Linked DNA regions of Homo sapiens: regions 1 and 2 are each linked to region 3. Evidence: promoter capture Hi-C in 16 types of primary human blood cells and fetal thymus (Javierre and others, 2016). All regions are on one chromosome and are shown on one strand. Each heading gives the region's core, a stretch centred on a gene start or on the middle of the fragment in contact. The rest is flanking DNA. Distances are from core to core; before and after follow the strand shown.

Region 1 (2,700 bases), core at 1-2,500, 120 kb before region 3:
CCCCTGCAGCCCACCGCCCCTTCCCTGAGTGTCTGAACCCCAGGGATGGGTGACCCCACCAGGGACTCAGAGCTTGGCCTTGCTGCCAGGAATCTCCAAAAGCCAAGATAGGCCTCATCCCCCGGAGGCTTCTGCAAAAGGCCTGGCCCTGCCCTCATCTGCAGCCCTACCACCCATCAAGGCTGGGAGGCACAAGGTTGGGGACCATCCACCCAGACGCCCTGGATGCCAGCACAGTCACAGTCGAGAGGATGTGGCTTGGAGTCCACAGACTCATGGCGGACCCCAGACCTACATCCCAGTGGGTGACCTGGCTGGGCCCCGATAGCCTCATCCTAACCCAGACTACAGGTAACAGGACATGGACCATCCCTTCCACCCGCTGCCACCACCATGGACACTGGAAGGGGCAGTGAGACTCACTGAGGTGGCAGAAGCGGCCGTAGAGCCCTGGGTCGCAGAGGCAGGCCCCGTAGAGGCGGTGGCACCGGCCCCGGTTGGCACAGTTGCATTTCTTGCGACAGTGCTTGCCATAGTAGCCCTTGGGGCAGCCTGGGGGCAGCGGGGCTCCATGTGAACCTTGGTGGCAGCCAGCCTACCACATGTGGTCCCCCCATGTGGTAGGATGCGCGGGGGCCCAGGGCCCAGCACAGGAGCTGGGAGCAGCCCCCGCCAGGGCACTAGGTGAGCCTTCCGGATGTGGCCGTCTGCCCTGGCTGGTCTGTCCCCTACATCCCCTGCCCCCAGGGTTTGTGGCAAGGGCGGGTGGAAGAGCACATTCCTCGGCCCACACTGGAGAGATGCACAAAGCTCACGCCCCACTCTCCCCAAAGTCTGGCCCCCATCAGGAGCCGCCTGACTTCTGTCCCCTGGTGGTCACTAAGCTTGATCTCAGAGCCTCAAAGCGGGAAGGACACGTGGCCCCAGTAGACAAGGTCCCAGGCCCAAGCCGCAGGTGGCCCCAGAGCTAGAAAGGTCCTCGCCTTTCTTCCCCAAACAATTCTCTCTGGCTGGGTCCTGCCCCACGTCCTTCCTCCTACTGAAGGCGGTAGTCAGCTGAAGGTACCCCCACAACTACATACACGTCCTAGTCCCCAGGACCTGGAGACTAGGCACAGTTGCATTTCTTGCAACAGTGCTTGCCATAGTAGCCCTACATTATCCAGGCTGGCCCTGAATCCAAAGACAAACATCCTCATCTGAGAGGCAGGCGGAAGCCGAGACAGAAAGAGGAGGCCTGGAGAAGGGGAGGTGACCCCTCAACGCTGCAGGCAGCCTGGAGGGTACAGCACGATCCCAGGGGTGCAGCACCCAGGAATGAATACGGGGGTTCCCCAGCACCCTGTAGAATAGAAAGGGCAGACAAAGTGGGGAAGGGAGGCACACTGACAGGGAAGAGGTAGGAAGCCCTGTGTGGCTGCCTGGGGTCCCCACCACCACCAGGCAACCAGCCCTGCAGAGCCCAGCACATACGGCCAGGAAAGCTCACGGGGCCACCTGGGGGACAGGTTCTAGGGTTGGCTGTCTTCCTCTCACAAAGGCAGAAAGTTTATGATACGTTAGCTGCACTCTCCATCGAAAGAGGCAGAAATGATGAAGTCTGAAGACTTAAAGATGAAGCTTTAGCCACCTGGGAAACATTTTCTGGACTAATTCCTCCAGAAAGGCTGAAACTTCAGAGTTAATAAGGGAGCCAACATCATCCCTTGCAGCCACTGGCCCCCAAGTAATCCCTTCTGCAAACCTCACCCAGCCATCACCAGCTCTACTTGAATGCTTCCAGGAACAGGGACCTCACTGCCTCTCAAGGGAACCCATTCCAAAAGTGCTGCTCTGTAGTCTTATCGTCTGCTACAGTTAGGCCCTGGGAAAATTAGCAACAGTGAAAAAGCAATACCCCTCTCATTCAAGGGCCTCATTCTCTCTCAAGCACAGCCTAAAGCTCTGGAGACAGGGAGGCAGGAAGGAAAGGGAGTCTAGGAAAAGTTTGGTAGCAGTTTCCCTGCTCCAGTGGGAGGAAGGAGACAAGGAGGACGTGGAGGGGTGGTGTCTCCCACTTCCCTTACAGCCCAGGGGTAATTCCAGAAGCACCAGAAGAGGCTGCACGCACCATCCTCACAGTTAGTTCCACTGACACCCGGGGGGCAGCGGCAGGCCCCCGTGACAGAGTCGCAGGTCCCACCATTCTGACAGCTGCAGGAGAAGCTGCAGTTCTTCCCAAAGGTGTCCGGAGGACAAGCTACAAAGAATGACAGGGAAGCGTCAGGGTCACCAGCCAGCACGACACTCTGAGACCCCTTCCTAGGGTTGGAGGCTTGGGTTTAGAAGCAGTTGCCTAGAGATAAAATGATGGCACTTGTACCACATCACCCCTGCCCATGCTCATGGCAGACATCACTAATTGATCACTGACTCCTCTCTCTGAACACCAGCAGAGAGAGGAGTCTCCTCCTTCTGAACCAGCTCTTTCAAACAGGCAGAGCCTCACTGACAGTTATGACGGGTCCCTGGCCATCTGAGCTAGAGGAACCCCACCTGCCGGCTGCCCTTCAGCAGACACCCCTCACTGTCTTAGTTATTTGCTGGCTTGCTTGTTGCTGGACCGTGAAGACTGATATTTAGGAAGGACAAACACTTTAACTTGCTTGTTCCCAGGGAATCCTTACTGCCTGGAACAGTGCGTGGCATAGAGTGGACAGT
Region 2 (2,700 bases), core at 76-2,575, 100 kb before region 3:
AGGACGTGCCCCCCAAGAGCTGCCTCTTCCAGGGGGCCTGAGGGGACCAGGGGGTGCAAGGCTAAAGTGCCCCAGGCTCCCAGAAGCCCCGCAGGGCAGCGGGCTGGGGCCGCACCCCCGTCTCCGTTGTCCGGAAGCACATCACAACATTCCTGCATCTGTTTCTACTTTCAGACCCAGGGAAACTTTACAGAGCGGCTGCCTGGATCCCCATGGTGGCCGGGACATGTGAGTGTGTGCCGGGGGGGGGGCCCCAGGGCTGGCGAGCTGCTCTGCCACATCACAGGCAGGACCGGGAGGGAGGCTGCTCAGAGCCGGCTTGGGCCCTGCTCCGGGCCTCCAAGGCAGGAAGAAGGGGCGTCCTGACGCCCATCACCCAGAGAATGACCCCCCATGCCTCCCAGACAGAGACCAGCAAGAGGGTCAGTCCCGTCCTTGCTTGGGGCGCCTGTGCCCAGAGCCAGCCAGGAGCAGGGGTGCCGAAGGGTGAGGGTGGCTGACTGGCTACTTACTCTTCACCCCAGATTCCTGGGCTCCAGCCCCCTGCTCAGCCCTGTGCCGGTTCCTAGAGGCCTGGCACCTCCCCTGCTTCCCTCTAACCCTCCCTCCCTGCGGCCACAGTCCGTGTCCGCGACACCTCCTCCAGCCCATTCCAATAGCCAAGAGACCCCGCAGAGGAAGCTGAGGGACAGGGTCCCGCTTCTTCGTCACCCCTACCCTACCTGCCACAGCCCACACCCTCCAGGCTCCCCAAGCTGGGCAGGGATCACCTGGGCCCACAAAGCCTGGCTCTGCGGGCGAAGGGTGTCCTCACGCAGCCCCTGCCCTGACCAGGCCTCCTCGGCCAGCGTCCCCCACCACGTAGCACGTGACCCAGGTCTCCCTCAAATCAAATGTAGGGGACATCACAACCAGGCCAGGTCCCTGCTGATAACCACGGCAGCTTCTGTTGTAGAGAATCTTTAATAGGATCTCCACCCACGGGCTCACTCCCCTGTCCACTGGGAGGGGCCTCAGCATCACAGCGGGGCTTAGTGTGGCTGCAGAGGGTCTGCAGCCAGGGTCCTGGGGACCTGGCAACTTGGCATTCAGTCCTTTTACCGGCCTGAGCCTGGGGCAAGGTGCGGGCAGGATTCCATAGAGCCATGCTCCGCAGGAAGGAGCCACTGCCAGAGCGGCCTCTGCCTCTCCATGTCCACAGCCACCCTCTCAGGCCAGGCCTGGGCACACCCCAGAGGGTAGGGATGGCTGAAGCCAGGAGCCCAGGCAGGGTCTCCAGGCGACACTCACCCAGGCAGGTCCTGCTGTCAGTGTGGAGCCGGAAGCCGGGCTTGCACTCACAGAGGTAGGAGCCTGGGGTGTTCACGCACCGGTGCTGGCAGCCACCGTTGTGGGTTCGGCATTCGTCCACATCTGAGCAGGAATGGGGAAGGATCAGCAGCTGGGCACCTGTGCCCTCCTGCTTTGCCAACACAGCCCCCCAGGTGCCGGGGGCCCAGACCCAGGTCCCTCCCGTGCCTCGAGGGCACCACCCATGAGCCCCTCACCCACATCTGCCGGAGACGCAGCAGAAGAGACAGGGTCTGTGCTTCCACCTTGGACACCTGCTCGAGAAGGAAGAGCCACCGCCTCGAGGGCCGGCCAGAAGGTGGGGAGTAGCAGAGGGCTCCAAGGACAGGCTGGGCCTCTAGCGCCTTTCAAGACTGAACCGGGAGCGCACGCGGTTTTCTTAAGTCCAAATCTACAAAGTGCTTCCTGGGCGGTGTCAACCGCTCCACCAGGACCCACAAGCCCAAAAAGAGAAACTGACAGCTTTTGAGACGGCCATGCCCAGGCTGTGGGGGGAAGCCTGAGAAAGGGGAGGGCGTGCTGGCTTCAAGAGTGTCCCCGCAGTTCATGGCCATCTGGAGCCTTCCAGTGAGGCCTTGTCTGGAAACAGGGTCTTGGCAGCTGTCCTAAGTTCAGGCTCGAGATGAGATTGTTCCGGATGAGGGTGAGCCCTAAATCCAATGCGCCTATCCCAACAAGAGACACACAGAGAGGGCCATGTGGAGACCAGGCAGATTGTGGTGACGAGGCTACGGGCTAAGGACGGCCAGAAGGAAGAGGCCAGGAAGGTCCTCTCTATGGGTTCATAGGGAGCGTGGCCCCGCGGACACCTTGGGTTCAGAATCCTGGCCTCCAGATGGCGACAGAAGAAACTTCTATAGTTTGTAGCCACCCCGTTTGCGGTGTTTGTTCCAGCAGCCCTGGGAAACCAATGCAGCTGGGGTCAGCCTGGGCCCCCCACACCCACAGGCTCCCCGTGCAAGGACCCAGAAGGCCACCATATCCCAGGACAGAAGCCTTCGCTGTGCCGGCACCCTCCCCCATGAAGTGCCACCCGCCATCCCAGAGCAGCCCAGACCCCGTCAGACCCTCCCTGCCCAAGGGCCAGCTTGGTTTAGAACCACGTGTCCTCAGGTTCCAGACTTAGCTGATGCCCCACTCAAAGGCGGTAGAGGGGAGTAGGAGAGCAGGAAGGGGTCGAGAGCAGCCTGGTCCTGAGGCCTCTCCCCGCATCTGCGCTGCCTGGACTTCCACAGCCTGGGGACCAGCCAAGGGGGCAGAGCAGCAGTCCAAGGCCACAGACACCTCGCAGGACCCTTGTCCCTCCCACTGCTTACCAAGCCCCCTGAACAAGCGTGGCTGAAGAGAGCA
Region 3 (2,700 bases), core at 90-2,589:
CTCTCTGACTCCAGGGGTATTGGGTCTTTCTGCCAGCGCCCATGCAACTTTGGCAGCCTGGCCTGTCTGCTGGCAAGTGGGGCAGAATCCCTGCACTCCACCATTCTTGGGCAACACTCCCTCTAGGATTTTGGCCTCCCTTTTCTCTCTGGTCTTTGACCACCGCTACCCAGCAAACTCCTCCATCTAGACCAGCCAGCATTGGTTTCTTCCACTCCCCCAGCTGCCGCGTGGGAGGCGCCACTGCAAACTTCCCTGGGGTCTCCCAGCTGCTCAGAGATCCCCATGCCCTTCCCTGATCAGCTCCCTGCCCGGTTCTCATCCCGGCGATTCTAAACCGTCCATCTTTACAAATACTCCGCTCCATCCCCACTCCCTGACTGAAGTAAACAGATGTATCCTGAACTCCTCATTCTCCCCCCATCTCACTCTCCTCGCCTGTGTGCACCTCGCCTCGTGTGTCTTCCTCACCTCCGAGCAGAGGGATCTGTCCTCCTGCCCGAAGGTAACCCTGACCCCTGGACTCTGCGCCTCCTTCCCGCAGCCTCCACCAGATTGCGGGTCCGTTCACCGCCCCCCTCCACACGCGCTGGGGGCACCTCCGGGAGCTGGGGCTAGCGCAGGGCACACACATGTTCCACCTCGAACTGCGAGCGCTGACCGGGATCTCTGGGCAGCCCTCTCTGTGTGCACTGGCTTGCTGAAGGCTCGCGACAGCCTGGGCCCGGGCGCGCATTCCAGCACTTTCTACCCTCCGGCTTCAGAGTGCATTGCTCTGTGGATCCGTCACGAATAAGCCGTGTGTGAAGAACGCCAGGTCCCGGCAGAAGATCGCTGCCCGGCGTGCGAACTCCCCCACGGTGCACCAGGGCCGCCGCCCTGCATCCTCCAACCTCAGCTCCCCGGCACCGCGACCCTCCGTGCAGTGCGAGCCCCCGATGGGCGCGCGCCCCCACCTGCGCTCCAGAAGGCCGAAGGGGGCATCCCACTTGCAGGGCGGGTCACCCGCTTTCCCCGCGGGCCAAGGGGCTCCAAGATTCCCAGCCCCTCCTTCCCAGCCGCTCCGCGACACCCTGGCAACCGGCTTCGGCCCCGCCCCTTCTCGTTGTGTAAACAGGAAGTGAGCCTGCGCGTGACGGTCGCTTCCGGCCCGGCGAGGGGCGGGAGCGATTGTGAACGGCGGCGGGGCAGAGCCAATCGCGGAAAACGGCAGGAGGAGAGCCAATCCCGAGGGTCGGCGGACGCGGGAAGGGGCGGAGCCAGAGGCGGGGCCGGCAAGGCGGAGCCAATCGCGGCGGTCCGCGGGGCGGGGCCGGGGGCGCGGCCGGGTGGTGGCGGTGGCTGCGGCGACGGCGGTCGCGTCGGCGTCAGGGTCGGGGTCGGTAAGGGGTGCGGCAATGCTGCAACTGCGGGACTCGGTGGACTCGGCCGGTACGAGCCCCACGGCGGTGCTGGCGGCCGGCGAGGAGGTGGGGGCAGGCGGCGGCCCGGGCGGGGGGCGGCCGGGGGCGGGGACGCCGCTGCGCCAGACACTCTGGCCTCTCAGCATCCACGACCCCACGCGCCGCGCCCGCGTCAAGGAGTACTTCGTGTTCCGGGTGAGGCAGGGGCCAGGGCCGGGGCGGGGGCCGAGGGCGCGGGGCGGGATGGGGGCGGGTGGGGTCGGAGGCGGGCGCCGGGCGGTCCCGCAGGGAGCGAGCTGTGACCTGTGATCTTTGCCCCCGTCCCCCACCCCGCAACCCGCCCAGCCCGGCAGCATCGAGCAGGCAGTGGAGGAGATCCGCGTGGTGGTGCGGCCCGTGGAGGACGGCGAGATCCAGGGAGTGTGGCTGCTTACCGAGTAAGCCGGGGCTGCGCTCTCCTTGGTGGGGGGACTCGCCCCGAGCCGCCGCGCAGCACCTTGCGAGGACTTCCCGGGGTGCTCGTGCCACGCTCAGGCGCCCCGTGCCGCCCCTGCTGCCCTTCCAGGCGGGCTGGCCTTGGCTAAGTCGAGACAGCCGCGTCCAGTGTGGACTGAGGCCCCTCCTCTGCCTACAGGGTGGATCACTGGAACAATGAGAAGGAGCGGCTGGTGCTGGTCACGGAGCAGTCCCTGCTTATCTGTAAATACGACTTCATCAGTCTCCAGTGCCAGCAGGTGGTGCGGATAGCGCTCAACGCAGTAGACACCATTTCCTACGGAGAATTCCAGTTTCCCCCTAAATCGCTCAACAAGTAAGCCTGTTCAGAGTCCAGTATCACTGGACCTAAGCACCAGAGTGGACCTTACAATTCAGCCCTTTTAAATCAGCCCCCCAAGCGGTGTGTCTTCTCTGTCATTAATTATAAGCACAAAGGCTCCAGCTCCAAATATCAATGGGAAGTTCCTTAAAAAGAAGCGACTTCTGGGCAATTGAGTGCATTAAAAGGAATTCTGGCACAGAAGGCAGCTATTAGGCTGGTAGTAAAAAGACTTACATGAGTTCAGGATGCATTGAAGTAGAGCCCAGCGTGTTAAAAAGGAACTTGGATGTTCTTCAGGAAAAGTCCAAACTCTGCATTTTTCTCCAGCCAGGGACAGATTGCATATGACACATCAAGTCTTGCTCTGGCTAATTTTTTAAAGAGAAATGGAGGGTCCCGTTGTAATTTATAGATACCACTAAAAGACAAATTTGGAAATATTTAATGACCAGCTTTCAGGAGTTGATCTTTTTGCTG

What was found. Contacts are between HindIII fragments. The CHiCAGO score rates a contact against its expected background, and 5 or more counts as called.
Region 1: a contact is called between a fragment that was not itself captured here and the fragment with the promoter of TPRG1L in region 3, in 13 of 17 cell types (neutrophils, naive CD4 T cells, naive CD8 T cells and 10 more). The highest score is 12.7, in neutrophils.
Region 2: a fragment that was not itself captured here is called in contact with the fragment with the promoter of TPRG1L in region 3 in 3 of 17 cell types (neutrophils, naive CD4 T cells and non-activated CD4 T cells); the score reaches 11.4 in neutrophils.

The regions. Positions count from the first base shown.
Region 1 is chr1:3,505,685-3,508,384 of GRCh38, forward strand. It overlaps MEGF6 (multiple EGF like domains 6), which reads right to left. Exons shown (of 37, transcript NM_001409.4): 14 at 2,111-2,239; 15 at 424-552. Among named protein-coding and RNA genes, the nearest start is that of ARHGEF16, 52 kb to the left of the region's middle. The HindIII fragment of the contact is 736 bases long and covers 883-1,618 here.
Region 2 is chr1:3,522,834-3,525,533 of GRCh38, forward strand. It overlaps MEGF6 (multiple EGF like domains 6), which reads right to left. Exons shown (of 37, transcript NM_001409.4): 5 at 1,291-1,413. Among named protein-coding and RNA genes, the nearest start is that of MIR551A, 37 kb to the right of the region's middle. RefSeq lists an enhancer at 326-865. The HindIII fragment of the contact is 4,070 bases long and covers 1-2,700 here.
Region 3 is chr1:3,623,676-3,626,375 of GRCh38, forward strand. It overlaps TPRG1L (tumor protein p63 regulated 1 like), which reads left to right and starts at 1,340. Exons shown (of 5, transcript NM_182752.4): 1 at 1,340-1,598; 2 at 1,749-1,840; 3 at 2,038-2,214. The coding sequence starts at 1,398. It also overlaps a transcript of MEGF6 not described here. RefSeq lists enhancers at 614-733, 1,714-2,376 and a silencer at 1,184-1,413. The HindIII fragment of the contact is 13,719 bases long and covers 1-2,700 here.